Regions from separate parts of the Homo sapiens genome. Here all the other regions are linked to region 3. The links are contacts of gene promoters, found by promoter capture Hi-C in blood cells and fetal thymus (Javierre and others, 2016). All regions are on one chromosome and are shown on one strand. The core of a region is centred on a gene start or on the middle of the fragment in contact, and the rest is flanking DNA. Distances in the headings are between cores, read along the strand shown.

What was found. The method cuts DNA at HindIII sites, captures the fragments that hold promoters and counts their contacts. A CHiCAGO score of 5 or more calls a contact.
Region 1: a contact is called between a fragment that was not itself captured here and the fragment with the promoter of PRPF3 in region 3, in 1 of 17 cell types (fetal thymus). The highest score is 5.3, in fetal thymus.
Region 2: a contact is called between a fragment that was not itself captured here and the fragment with the promoter of PRPF3 in region 3, in 1 of 17 cell types (neutrophils). The highest score is 6.6, in neutrophils.

The regions. Positions count from the first base shown.
Region 1 is chr1:150,998,957-151,003,093 of GRCh38, forward strand. It overlaps MINDY1 (MINDY lysine 48 deubiquitinase 1), which reads right to left. Exons shown (of 10, transcript NM_001376665.1): 2 at 3,209-3,750; 3 at 2,769-2,826; 4 at 2,294-2,358; 5 at 1,501-1,659; 6 at 906-1,008; 7 at 413-555. The coding sequence starts at 3,661. Among named protein-coding and RNA genes, the nearest start is that of MINDY1, 5.9 kb to the right of the region's middle. The HindIII fragment of the contact is 1,273 bases long and covers 2,221-3,493 here.
Region 2 is chr1:150,891,363-150,896,122 of GRCh38, forward strand. All of the region lies in intron 1 of CTXND2 (cortexin domain containing 2), which reads left to right. It also overlaps a transcript of LOC107985204 not described here. Among named protein-coding and RNA genes, the nearest start is that of CTXND2, 6.6 kb to the left of the region's middle. RefSeq lists enhancers at 203-347, 1,082-1,226 and cis regulatory regions at 275, 1,154. The HindIII fragment of the contact is 2,823 bases long and covers 203-3,025 here.
Region 3 is chr1:150,319,477-150,323,776 of GRCh38, forward strand. It overlaps PRPF3 (pre-mRNA processing factor 3), which reads left to right and starts at 2,057. Exons shown (of 16, transcript NM_004698.4): 1 at 2,057-2,116. RefSeq lists enhancers at 1,171-1,736, 1,866-1,915, 2,106-2,155. The HindIII fragment of the contact is 20,070 bases long and covers 1-4,300 here.

The sequences.
Region 1 (4,137 bases), core at 1,607-4,106, 680 kb after region 3:
TGCCCCCTCCTAGGGGAGGATCATACTTTCCTGTCCCATCGACGGCAGGCTTATCCCTTATGGCTTGCTCTGGCCAGAAGATGTGAGCAGAAATGACATGTGTCATTTCCAAACAGAAGCTCTAAGCATGAGTGCACAGTGCCCCTCTCTCTCTCTGTTCCCACATATATTCCAGATAAAGGATCTTTTGTCAGCTGGGTCCCAGAGTGAAGATGGTGTGGGACAGAACCGTAGCCAGTCCACAGTGGACACGCACCAGGAGCGGGAAATGAACCTTTGTTGTGGTAAACCACAGGGATTTGAGGGGTCACTTGCTACCACGGCTTAATCTAGCTGATCCCAGCTGGACCCACGAGAAAAAGGCACCAGGAAATGACAGCACCGCAGCACGCCACCCCCAAACTCGCATTACCTTATGCTTAGTCATGGTGCTAAAGTGGTTGTTTCGGAAAAAGACGCTAAGTTCACCCTCCTTAGCAGCTGCTGTCAGCTCACACAGTCCGTGGTAGGTCAGCTGGGCCGCGGTGGTCTCCAGGAACTGCTCTGCAATCAGGCCTGCCAGAAAGGGACGAGTCGGGGGAAACTTGGCTTAAATTCAAGGTCCACAACAGGAAGGACCATCCAGAGAGCCCCTGTCAAAAGCCCCGGGGGGTCAGTCCCACCTTCTGACGTCCCTTTCTTGAAACCTGGCTGTATTCATTCACTTAACAAATACTTATAATAGAGCAGCTACCTTGTGCCAGGCACTGGGGATACCTCAATGAACTAAACAGAAATTCCCCAAGCTCCTTCTTGTGAAGCTTATATCTAGTGGGATGTGGTAGGAGATGACACCCAATAAAAAATAAGCCTAAGTAGCTGTCATTCCCTCCACATACTATCCATGAGAAGGGGAGGAATGTCACCTTCTGTCACGAGGTTGGTGTCACTGGAGTGTTTGCAGGTGATGATCCTCTCCACCAGCTGGTTGTAACTCAGTTTCCCAACTGCACGCACAGCCTCAGGACTCTGCTTGGGTAGTGGGATGTGGGATACCAAAAAAATTGGGATTTTTTTTTCTTTTTTAAGGAAGGAAATGAACAAAGCTCACAAGGACTACAACCCTGTGATGAATGGTTCCTAAACACTTTTTTTTTTTGGTCTCTCAAAAAAGAAAAAAATTTCAGGAACCATTCATCATAGGGTTGCTATGTTGCCCAGACTGGCCTCGAACTCCTCCCAAGTAGCTGGGAATACAGGCATGTGCCACCAAACCCATCTGCTTCCTGAATTTTTGATGTCTAAAGAACTGACCTATTTGCATGTAGTTTGCTTGTATTTGCATGTTACCCCCAAAATAGATTAAAATTCAAGGAATTCTGTACTGGGTCCAGTCTCTAAACACTATTTCCCTCCCAAGCCAATCTAACCCCTAACTCCCTAACCTCTACCCGACAAAAATTTGCCTCTCTCATGTCAGCTTGAGCTGGATAAGGTCCCAGTGGGCCCTCCCACCCTCACCTGTGGATCAACAAGCCAGCCATGGTACAGAGGTATGCCTAGCAGGTCAAAGACACTGCACTCGGGTGTATACTCAAAATCAGAGACGCCTGTGAATCGCACATTGACATCCAGACCTGTGGCCAGTTTAGGCAGCACTGTCATTGCATCATCCACATTCTGGGGGTAGAAAAAAAAATGATGGAGATTCTAGCCTTCTCTCCCACCACTCCACTCCCACCTGCAGAAATTAAAAATTAACCTTGCTGCTCTTCTTCCCTGATTCTCTTACAAGCCACTCCATTTCTCCCTTGCCTCAACCCTTCTCTATCTTATATAAATGAACATTGTTTTTCTTTGAGAGTCTAAGTCTAATTCTTTCATCCAGGCTGGAGTGCAGTGGTGTGATCCTAGCTCACTGCAGCCTCAAACTCTTGGTTTCAAGTGACCCTCCCACCTCAGCCTCCTGAGTAGCTGGGACTACAGGCACGCACCGCCATACCTGGCTAATTCTTGAAAAAAAAAATGGTTTTTTTTAGAGACAGGGGTATTATTATGTTGCCCAGGCTGGCCTCGAACTCCTGGCCTCAAGTGATCCTCCCGCTTTGGCATCTCAAAGTGCTGGGATTACAGGTGTGAGCACCCGGCCAATGAACATATTTTCTAGGACAAAGATAAACTCTCCTCTGACTCCTGCAGAATGAAATCATGGTTCAAGGAAACCTCTGAAGAAGCAACAAAAGCTTATCTTAGTATTACAAGATGTCCCCTTACAAACCTGCAAACCCCTATGCCTGCAGACCTTTTGCCTCACCTGCTGAAAATTAAGCTGAAGTCCCTCTGACTTCTCCTGGGGCTTGATGGACAGGAGGCAGTTTCCTACAAGACAGGGCCCCTTATCAGCTTACCCCACCAATCATCCCAAAAGCTAAGTTTCCTCTTCTCCTGGAGAATGCGGGTAATGTCACAGAACACAGATTTTCAGAGCTGGAAAATACTTAGAGTCTAATCCAGACTCTTCATTTCTCAGAGGAGGCGACAGCCTCATAAAGGTGAACGGCCCACCCAGGGTCAGATACAAAAGCTAAGGGCAGAATTGGTGTTACAACCCAGGACTCCCGACGCCTTTGCTTTTCATTCTCCAGCCTTGCAGAGAAGCCCCATAGACCCTTACCCTCCCTGCTGTATCAGAACCCCCAAATGGAGATCCCTGAATAGTCTGGATTTCTGGCTGAGTGGATAGCTCTGGAGCCCCTTGGGTAATTCCTCTTCAACGCCCAGTCACTCACCAAGATGGGCCATGAGCTCATCCGATGTGATCACTTCCTTCTGCGGGGGGAGCTTCACCTGGAGGCAGAAGGGGTGATCACGTGTGTGCTTTCCTCCAAAGAGCACTGAAGGAAGAACCCATGGAAAGGCAAGGGGGAGCTCCAGTAGTAGGGTGGGGTAGGAAAAAAGGCTTGCAACTGGCACAAGGGAATGAATGTGAAATCTTGCAAGGCATGTGCATTTGCTAGGGAGTAGGAGATACAGGGGTAGGACAGATCTTCCTCTTTTTTTTTTTTCTTTGTTTTTAGGAACATCTTATCTCATTTGCTCAAGCTGGAGAAATAGGGAGAACAATCTGAAAAGTTTTGACTAGTTTGAGGACATCAGGATGATCAAGGAAGTAAGTCAGGGAAGAGTACTCCCTGATATTTTTTGCACCCCTAACTGCATGTTCTCTTACCTTCCACTGAAGAAAGAGGATGTTCATGATGGCAAGGAGAGGGCAAGGGCCGTTAGTGCTCTGGGTGATGATGGGTGTCTGTTCTCCTTTCCAAGGGATCCACTTGACACAGTAGAAATCTGGCTCAGGCTGTCGGGTCCTGGGGGACTGAGGAAGCTCCTGGGGCATGGAGCATGCCCTTATTGTCTCTACTTCAGGCAGTGTCCCAAGGGTTGGCCCCGGTGGAGCTGAGCTAGCTTCAGGCAGAGGGGACTCAAGGTTGTCCCCACACTGGCTAGGCAGCAAAGCTTGGTCTGCTGGCTCCCGTTCTCTAGCCTCCCCATCAGCATCTCTTGCATCTGTGTCCTGAGGGTGCTCATCTGGGCCTGCCAGAACCTCATGGTTTTCAGGGATGACTGCTTCTGCAGTCCCGGCCTTACCAGGGGCTGGATCCTCAGGCTGATGGTATTCCATGGTCAAAAGGGACTTGGCTGAGGGGCACTGAAGGTGTTTACTAACCTCAGGGACTTGCCTAAGCCAGGCTTGGGATGCAAAAGAGTGACCTGTCCAATAAGAAGGAAATCAGTGGGCTGGAAAGCAAACTAACCCAGAAAAGTCTTGGAAAAGGAATGTAGTGTAGAAGGCTGGCTAGTGTTTGTGCAGTAACTCCTGGCTATGGGCAGTATATGTGTAAACAGAAGGGCCCCGTGCTGAGCTCTTTCCACCTCTAACTTGCTGTGACCAGATGAGACCAAGAGGTCGTGGGGCTTCCAGACTTGGGAGGGAAGACTGGTGGGATTGAACACATGGGTGGAGTCAGCTTCCCTGAAACAGATCATGACAGGGAAGGGAGGAAAGACAGAGAGAAAGGGAGAGCACAAAGGAGAAAGAAGGATAAGAGGTGGAGAAAGAAATGTTAAATCTACGCTAATGGTTATTAATATGATGAT
Region 2 (4,760 bases), core at 364-2,863, 570 kb after region 3:
GCCACCATGCCTGGCTAATTTTTCATATTTTTAGTAGAGACAGGGTTTCACTGTGTTAGCCAGGATGGTCTCCATCTCCTGACCTCGTGATCTGCCTGCCTCGGCCTCCCAAAGTGCTGGGATTACAGGCGTGAGCCACTGCACCCGGCCTTATCTGATATTTCTAACACAAACATCTAATGATGTAATTTTCATGTTTACAAGCTTTCCAATGGCTCCCCACTGATTACAAAGCTGAGTCCTGAGTGTTTAATCTGCAACACAAGGTCCCTTGTGAGCTGCCTTTGCTACCAATCCTATCTATTCAGTAAAATATATCTCAAAGTCTTACTGAACAATTGCTGTTTCTCAAACATACTATATTGTCCTCCCTTAAACCTTCATATCTTTACCTGGAATATCTTCTTTCCTTCTCCCCTTTCCCACTTTTAGCTGCCAGATAAACTCATTCTTAGCCCTCAATTCAATTCATGTGTTGGCCTCTTCAGTAAAATCTCCCTTGATTCTTCCCTTTGGGCTTCTTTCCCACTTTACCCAGCAAATTGCTTTGGAATTATTTGCTTTCAGGAAGTACAGATTTTTTTATTTTTCTCTTTAACTTTATAAGATTCAGACAGTTTACTTAGTATAAAATTATACTAGAAATTTGTGATAAGGAGAATAAATGAAAGGAAATCAAAGAAAGATGGAAGTCTCTTGAAATGCACTAATTGAGAGAAGGTGGAAAATTAATAAAATATTCAGGCTGAATAAGTCTAGTGAGATCTGCAAGTGCCAGGGTAAAACAAGATGTCCTTTTTGAGGAATGTAATGATGAATAATGAGAAAATATGTGCCTGAAGTCATAAAGATATGTCATATTTTCTTCTAAAGGTTTTCAAGTTTTCCTTTTACATATAACTAAATGCAATTTTTAAAATAAATATCCTATTTTCCAGTATCTTATTGAATAGTTCATGCTTTTCCTGTGACCAACAATACCCACTGTGTTATAATTCAAGTTTCTGTAAATGTGTGATTTGCCTCTGGGCTCTCTAGGGGTATCTATGCCCACATACCTACCCCGTTGTCATAAACCCTATAGCTTTATAATAAACCTTGATTGCTGATAAGGAAAATCTCTCTACCCTATTCTTTTTCTTCAGAATGTCTTATTCTTCTTCTTCTTTTTTTTTTTTTTTTTTTTATTGAGACAGGGCCTCGCTTTATCATCCAGCCTGGATTGCAGTGGTATGAAATGAACTCGGCTCACTGCAGCCTGAACCTCCCTGGCTTAAGAGATCCTCCCACCGCAGCCTCCCAAGTAGCTGGGACTACAGGTGCCCACCACCAGGCCCAGCTAATTTTTGTAGTTTTTGTAGAGATGGGGTTTTACCATGTTGCTCAGGCTGGTCTTGAACTCCTGACCTCAGGAGATCTGTCAGCCTCAACCTCCCAAAGTGCTAGGACTACGGGCATGAGCCACCATGCCTGGCTTCTATCTTCTCTATCCTTGAGCCTTTGAGTTCCTTCATACGTTTAAGAAAATTGATTTGTCAGTTTTCTCAAAAAATCCTGATGGGATTTTGGTGGAGTTGCATTGTATCCATAGATCAATCTGGGAAGAACTAACTACTATGCTGAATCCACAAACATAGTATATCCCTTCATTTACTTAAGTGTTCTTTAACGACTATCAGTAAAGTTTGGTAATTGTTTCCAAACTGGTCCTAGTCAACTTTTGTTAAACTTATTTTTAAATATCTTACGTATTTTTAATGCCATTGTAAATGATGCTTTTTTAAAAATTACATTTTCTTGTGTGTTGCTGGTATTTAGAAATATAATTGACTTATGTATCTTATCCAGCCACCTTGCTAAGCTCTAATTATCTCACATTTTTCTTTAGACTCATCTGCGGGCAATGACGTCTGTGAATAGTAAACTTTTGTTTTCTTCTTTTTCAATCCATTTTTTTTCATCTTATCTTACTGCACTGGCTAGGACTTCCAGAATTATGTTACATAAAAGTTAATATAGTGAACATTTTTGTCTGGTTCCTGATTTTAAAAGGAAAATCTTTCAACTGTTGCCCATTAAGTAGTAGGTTTGCTATAGTTTTTTTTGTTGTTGTTTGGACAGGCTGTCACTCTGTCACCCAGGCTGGAAGACAGTGATGCTATCATGGTTCACTATGGCCTTGATCTCCGGGCTTCAAGTGATCATCCCACTTCAGCCTCCTGAGTAGCTGGAAGTACAGACATGCACCATCTTGCCTGGCTAATTTTTAAATTTTTTTAGAGAGACGGGTCTCACTATGTTGCCCCGGCTGGTCTCAAACTCCTAGCCTCAAGCAATCCTGCTGCCTCAGCCTCCCAAAATGCTGGGATTACAGGTATGAGCCACCATACCCAGCCTATACATTTTTTATGGATACCCCCACTTATGCCTAGTGTTCCATTATTGGAACCCTAAGCATGTGGGGGTTATTTATGTCCTACTGCTCAAGGTCATCACCAAGGTCTGATTGCAAAAATTCAAAAAATTGCACCCTCAGGCATAAATGGGTTAAAGGAGCTCCTTTCTATCCCTATTTTGCTAAGAATATTAACATAGGTGTTTTATATTAGTATCTTTTTTTTCTTTTTTTTTAACCAGAGATGGGGGCGTCTCACTATGTTGCTCAGGCTGGTCTCGAACTCCTGGACTCAGGCAATCCTCCTGTCTTGGCTAGTATTAAGTTTTATCAAATGCTTTTTCTGTAATCATTGAGGTAATTTTTTCATTTAATCTATATATTAAATGTCACTTACAGGTTTTCTCATGTAAACTACCCTTGCATTTCTGGGAAAAACTCAGCTTGGTATTTGTGTCAATCAGGATTTATTTGCAGGGAATAGAAACTTTCTAGTTATTTAAAACAGAAGTAGGATTCTTAGTTACACATGACCGAAAAGCCCAACTCAAATGGGATTAAAGACTACAATGGAAAAATATGAATTTGCTAATTATAGGGCACAAGATTTTATAGATGTTCAATAAATCAAGCTTGTTAATTGTATTATTCAAATATTCTATATCTTCACTGATTTTTGCCTAGTCAACCTATTAATACTTGAGAAGAATGTGTGTTCTATCTACCATAATGGTGGTTTATATCTATTTCTCTCTAGAGTTCTATTGCTTTCTTATTTAAGACTGTTTTATTAGATGCATATAATGTATTTATTTATTTATTTTATTTAGCGGGTACAAGTGCAGATTTCTCACATGCATATATCAATGTGGTAAAGTCTGGACTTTCAGTGTACCCATGTAGGTACATATAATTTAGAATTGTTATATCTTCCTACTGAATTGAACCCTTGATCATTATTTATTAATCCTCTCTATCCTTAATAATGCTTTTTGTGGCCAGGCACAGTGGTTCATGCCTGTAATCCCAGCATTTTGGGAGACTGAGGCGGGTGGATCACCTGAGGTCAGGAGTTTGAGACCAGCCTGGCCAACATGGTGAAACCCCACCTCTACTAAAAATAAAAAATTAGCCGGATGTGGTGGCGCGTGCCTGTAGTCTCAGCTACTCAGGAGGCTGACACAGGAGAATTGCTTGAACCAGGAGGAGGTTGTAGTGAGCCGAGATCGCACCACTGCACCCCAGCCTGGGTGACACAGTGAGACTCCGTCCCCCTCAAAAAAACATATATATATACATATATATATATATGATGCTTTTTGTATTTAGTTCTATTTTGTCTGATATTAATATAGCTATAAAATTTTATAGATATAAAATTTTATTTTGGCTAGTCTTTACCAAATATGCCTTTTTCTATCCCTTTTATTTTCAGCCTTTCCATGTCTTTAAATTTTAGGTGAATTTTTAAAAAATAGACTATAGCTAGATTGGGGCCAAGACCAAAGAATGGATGTTTGTCATTTTTTGTCTGCCCAACATCCAACTACCCTTCCTGTTTGGGGAAATCTTTTTTTTCTTTTTTTTTCTTTTTTTAATTTTGTGTGACGAAGTCTCTTTCTGTTGCCCAGGCTGCAGTGCAGAGACGCGATCTCAGCTCACTGCAACCTCCACCTCTCAGGTTCAAGTGATCTTCCTACCTCAGCATCCCAATTATCTGGAATTATAGGTGCGCACCACTACGCCCAGCTAATTTTTGTATTTTCAGTAGAGATGGGCTTTCACTATGTTGACTAGGCTGGTCTTGAACTCCTGACCTCAAGTGATCCACCTGCCTCGACCTCCCAAAGTGTTGGGATGATTACAGGCGTGAGCCACTGCACCCGGCCATGAAGAAGTCTTTCTTCACATGAATCTGTCAGAAACAATTCCCACTGCGGAGGCCTAGAGAAATCAAATATTCCCTCTTCCACCCTCTGGCAGCCAAGGTGTTAGTGCATGACTCAGCCTTGACCAGTCAGATGCTCTAGCCAGAGACTAGACTATTGAGTGACACAAAGATGACACAATTTATAATTCAGCCATGCCAGAGGCAGCAGTATCCAATGACAGTAGCAGCAGTGCTCGGCAACAGCAGTGTCTGGTGGTGGCAATGTCTAATGCCAGCATTGCCCTAACCAGACTTTTCCTGTGCTCTCCCTGGCTATGGTTCCTGATGGCTGGCTTCTCTTGATTTCTGTCTGTTTATAAGACTAGTTCTCTTTCTGAGAGCTATCTGACCTCTTTACAATAAATATATTTTCTGTTTAACGGAGAATCCGTTCCTGTTGCTTGCAAACAAGAATGTGTTCTTTTTTCCTCTGGA
Region 3 (4,300 bases), core at 807-3,306:
CTGAAGGAAACACAGCTAGTAACCGGAAAGCTACAGTTTAAATGTATCCAATTCTAAAAATTGGAAATAAAATCAGTTTTGTTTTGTCGAGATGGAGTCTCCCTCTGTCGCCCAGGCTGCAGTGCAGTGGCGCGATCTTGGCTCACTGCAACCTCCACCTCCCGGGTTCAAGCAATTCTCCTGCCTCGGCCTCCTGAGTAGCTGGGATTACAGGTGCCCACCACCACACCCAGCTAATTTTTGCATTTTTTTTAGTAGGGATGGGGTTTCACCATGTCGGCAGACTGGTCTCAAACTCCTGACCTCAAGTGATCCACCCGCCTCGACCTCCCAAAGTGTTGGGATTACAGGCGTAAGCCACCACACCTGGCCTAAAACCAGTTTCTAGAAACACATTTCTCCATAGGGAATTGAACGCAGACTGTTAGAAGCACCAAAACAAAATAAATTTACAACAACCCTGCAATGTTGAAACTCATTAACCCATTCAACAGACTTTTTGAGTGAATATTTTGTGAGACATTGGTGTTAGAAGCTGTAGGTGGGGAAACTGATTTGTGAATAAGTTGAGCAGTAGGTTCAAACTCCCCCAACTTGTTCCTTCAGAGCCAGGCTTTATCCTGTTATGTCGTGCTGCCCCATCAGGGAAGGTGGGGCTTGGTATGTACATTGTTATCTTTAGATACAAAAATCTCCTACTATCTGGGGAATGTGAATAACCTCCCTGAAGAACAACTGCATCTTCTAGTCAGCCTACCACCAAGAAGACATTTTGGAACTTTAGTTTGGATAGTTTATAATATAAAAATAATGGAATTTTTTCCATTTCTCATATAAGAAATTGTGTCATAATACTGGACAATCTTTTTCCAAACTATCTTTGTCCACACACATGTTGTTATGAATCATCGATTTAAAGAGTCAGTAGGGGCCGGGCGCGGTGGTTCAACCCTGTAATCCCAGCACTTTGGGAGGCCGAGGTGGGCGGATCACGCGGTCAAGAGATGGAGACCATCCTGGCCAACATGGTGAAACCCCGTCTCTACTAAAAATACAAAAGTTAGCTGGACGTGGTGGTCGCGCGCCTGTAGTCCCATCTACTCGGGAGGCGGAAGTTTCAGTGAGCCGAATGCACTCCAGCCTGACGACAGAGCGAGACTCCGTCTCAAAAAATAAAAAATAAAAATAAAAAATAAAGGGTCAGTAGGTTAGAGCCTCATTTTGGAGAGAAGTTAATATATAGACCTATTGATAGAATGGAGAAAACAATACTGGTAGGTCTCACTTGTCATTTATTGAGCCCAAAGTGCTGGGATTACAGGCGTGAGCCACGGCGCCCGGCCTGACACCACTGTTAAATTAGGGAGAAAGGGTTTACTTTCTACCAGAAAGGCTGTGTTTGAACACAAACGCAGAAGCCTCGCTCTTCATTCTAGCCTAAGTTTACTTTTGCGCACTTATTCTCCATATGAGGAAAACAGCAAGTAGCCCAATTTCCGCTTCAGGAAGTTAAAGACATTAACTTGGCAGAAATCGGCCGGGCGCGGTGGCTCACGCCTGTAATCCCAGCACTTTGGAAGGCTGAGGCGGGCGGATCACGAGGCCAGGAGATCGAGACCATCCTGGCTAACACGGTGAAACCCCGGCTCTACTAAAAATACAAAAAATCAGCCGGGCGTGGTGGCGGGCGCCTGTAGTCCCAGCTACTCGGGAGGCTGAGGCAGGAGAATGGCGTGAACCCGGGAGGCGGAGCTCGCAGTGAGCCGAGATCGCGTCACTGCACTCCAACCTGGGCGACAGAGCGAGACTCCGTCTCAAAAAAAAAGCTAAAAAAAAAACCTTGGCAGAAATCTAGCTAATAGGTTTAGCCTGGGAAATAGAAAGCAAGGAAATTGCTCAGGGAAACTTTTCGGTTCTGCGACGCATGCGTTCAGCCTCCAAGAAAGTGGCAAATACGGCTGCGCGAATTGGCGGCCCGGCCCTCCTTGGTCACGTGTTGGGAGACAGCGGCGTGGCGGCGGCGGTGGCGGTAGCGACGGCACGCCGTAGGGCGGTCAGAAGGTTTCCGGTTCCGGTGTAACGTTCGGGCTCCGTCTCAGGGGCTGAAGTTTGTGAGGTGAGTAGTGGCCCCGGGCCCACAGAGGGTAATTCCAGTCCGCGCCACTGTGGCCGGGGACTCAGTCCAAGGGGAGGACCGAAGCGGGAGGGTTCAGCGGGAAGGAGTGTGAAAGGAGTACCTGGTTTGGTGGGAGAAGAGGTTGGAATGAGATTGTTGAGAGGAAAAGGGCGGGGGCGGGAAGGAGACCGGGTTGGGAGACCAGCTCTGGGGTGAGGAGTTTAGGTAGAACAAGGTAGAGTAAGAGACTGGTTGGAGTGACGGAGAGAGTAAAAATGAAGATTAGCGGGGGAGTGGGGGGCTGCAGAGGGAAACTCAGGTTGTAGCAAACAAGAGCACGGAGTAAGGAATTCCTTCTGAAGACTGGATTTGGATTCTGCTGCCTGCTCATTGAGAGGAGAGATCATTGTACCTCGCTTTCCTTCCGCACCCCCACTACCCCCGCACCTCGCAGTTATTGTTGAGCATTTGATTAGTGACAAGGCTAATTACCGTTTGAAACTTTTTTATCCATTGGCTGTTTAGTTTGCACGTCATCTTATGGAGGTAACAGTGGCACCTCATTTATTGCTTTGGGCTTTCAAATTGCTTATACTTTCTAGCCTATCATTCAATTCTAGTGGAATATAAGACCCGTTAAGGTGAGGACTCTTGTTAGTTTTGCTCACTGTTTTATGTATCCACCGCACCTAGTACATTGCTTGACACTTAGTAGTTACTCAATAAATATTTATTGAATGAATTAGGATGTAAATATGGCAGTACTCATTTTGTAAGATGGTAAACTGTGGCTCCAAAGAATTACTTAACTTGCCCAAGGGCTTGTAAATGGTGGGGCTCAGTGTCCCAACTGTTTCTGTGTGAACTCTTGTTTTCACTTTCTATGGCATCTGGATATGCCGCTTTTGTGCAATACATGTGTAATATGTAGAAATTGGTACGCTGTATGTCTACTCATTGTGGGGTAATAGAACCACCATAGAATTACTCACGTAACTTGTCACTGAGGCAGAAAATCTTTCAGTCTTAGTTTCATCACTTCAATCTACTAGCTTCCTTTGGATATACCAAAAGTGAGTCTATTTGGCATCAAGTCTTATAGACTCTAGTATAGAGGCTAAACTTACCAAGAATGTAGAAGTTAATCAGACTGGATTTTTTGGAGAAAAGATGTCTTAAAACATCTTGAAAGATGATTCCCAGATCTTTGATAAGTGGCACTGCTGGGAATAGCTGAGCTTGGAAATTGAGGTCAGTCAATTTATTGACTCCCATTTAGACACCTTTTTTTTTTTTCCCCGGGACGGAGTCTTGCTCTGTCGCCCAGGCTGGAGTGCAGTGGTGCGATCTCGGCTCACTGCAACCTCCGCCTTCCATGTTCAAGGGATTCTCCTGTCTCAGCCTCCAGAGTAGCTGGGATTACAGGTGCAGGTCACCACGCCCAGCTAATATTTGTATTTTTAATAGGGATGCGGTTTCACCATGTTGGCCAGGCTGGTCTCGAACTCCTGACGTCAGATAATCCACCCGCCTTGGCCTCCCAAAGTGTTGGGATTACAGGCGTGAGCCACCGCACCTGGCTTTTTTTTTTTTTTTTTTTTTTTTGGAGACACAGTTTCACTCTGTCGCTCAGGCTGGAGTGCACATGATTTTGGCTCACCGCAACCTCCGCCTCCTGGGTTCAAGTGATTTTCCTGCCTCTGCCTCATAAGTAGCTGGGATTACAGGTGCCCACCACCTCACCTGGCTAATTTTTGTATTTTTAGTAGAGACAGGTGCAGTGGGTCACGCCTGTAATCCCAGAACTTTCGGAGGTCAAGGTGGGCAGATCACTTGAGGTAAGGCATTACCTGGCCGATATGGTGAAACCGTGTCTTTATTAAAACTACGAAATTGGCCAGGCGTGGTGGTGCATGCCTGTAGTCCCAGCTACTTGGGAGGCTGAGGCAGGAGAATCAAGTGAACCCAGGAGATGGAGGTTGCAGTGAACCAAGATTACGCCACTGCACTCCAGCCTGGGCGACGGAGTGAGACTCTGTCTCAAAATAAAAATGAGGGTATTCTTTTCTGAGCTGAAGGATCATCAAGTCAGCTGATGGAGACCCTGTAGATTGAACATGATAATTACCTGTATGCAGAATTCCCACTGGGATGAATATGACCACAGAGAAATGTGACAGAACA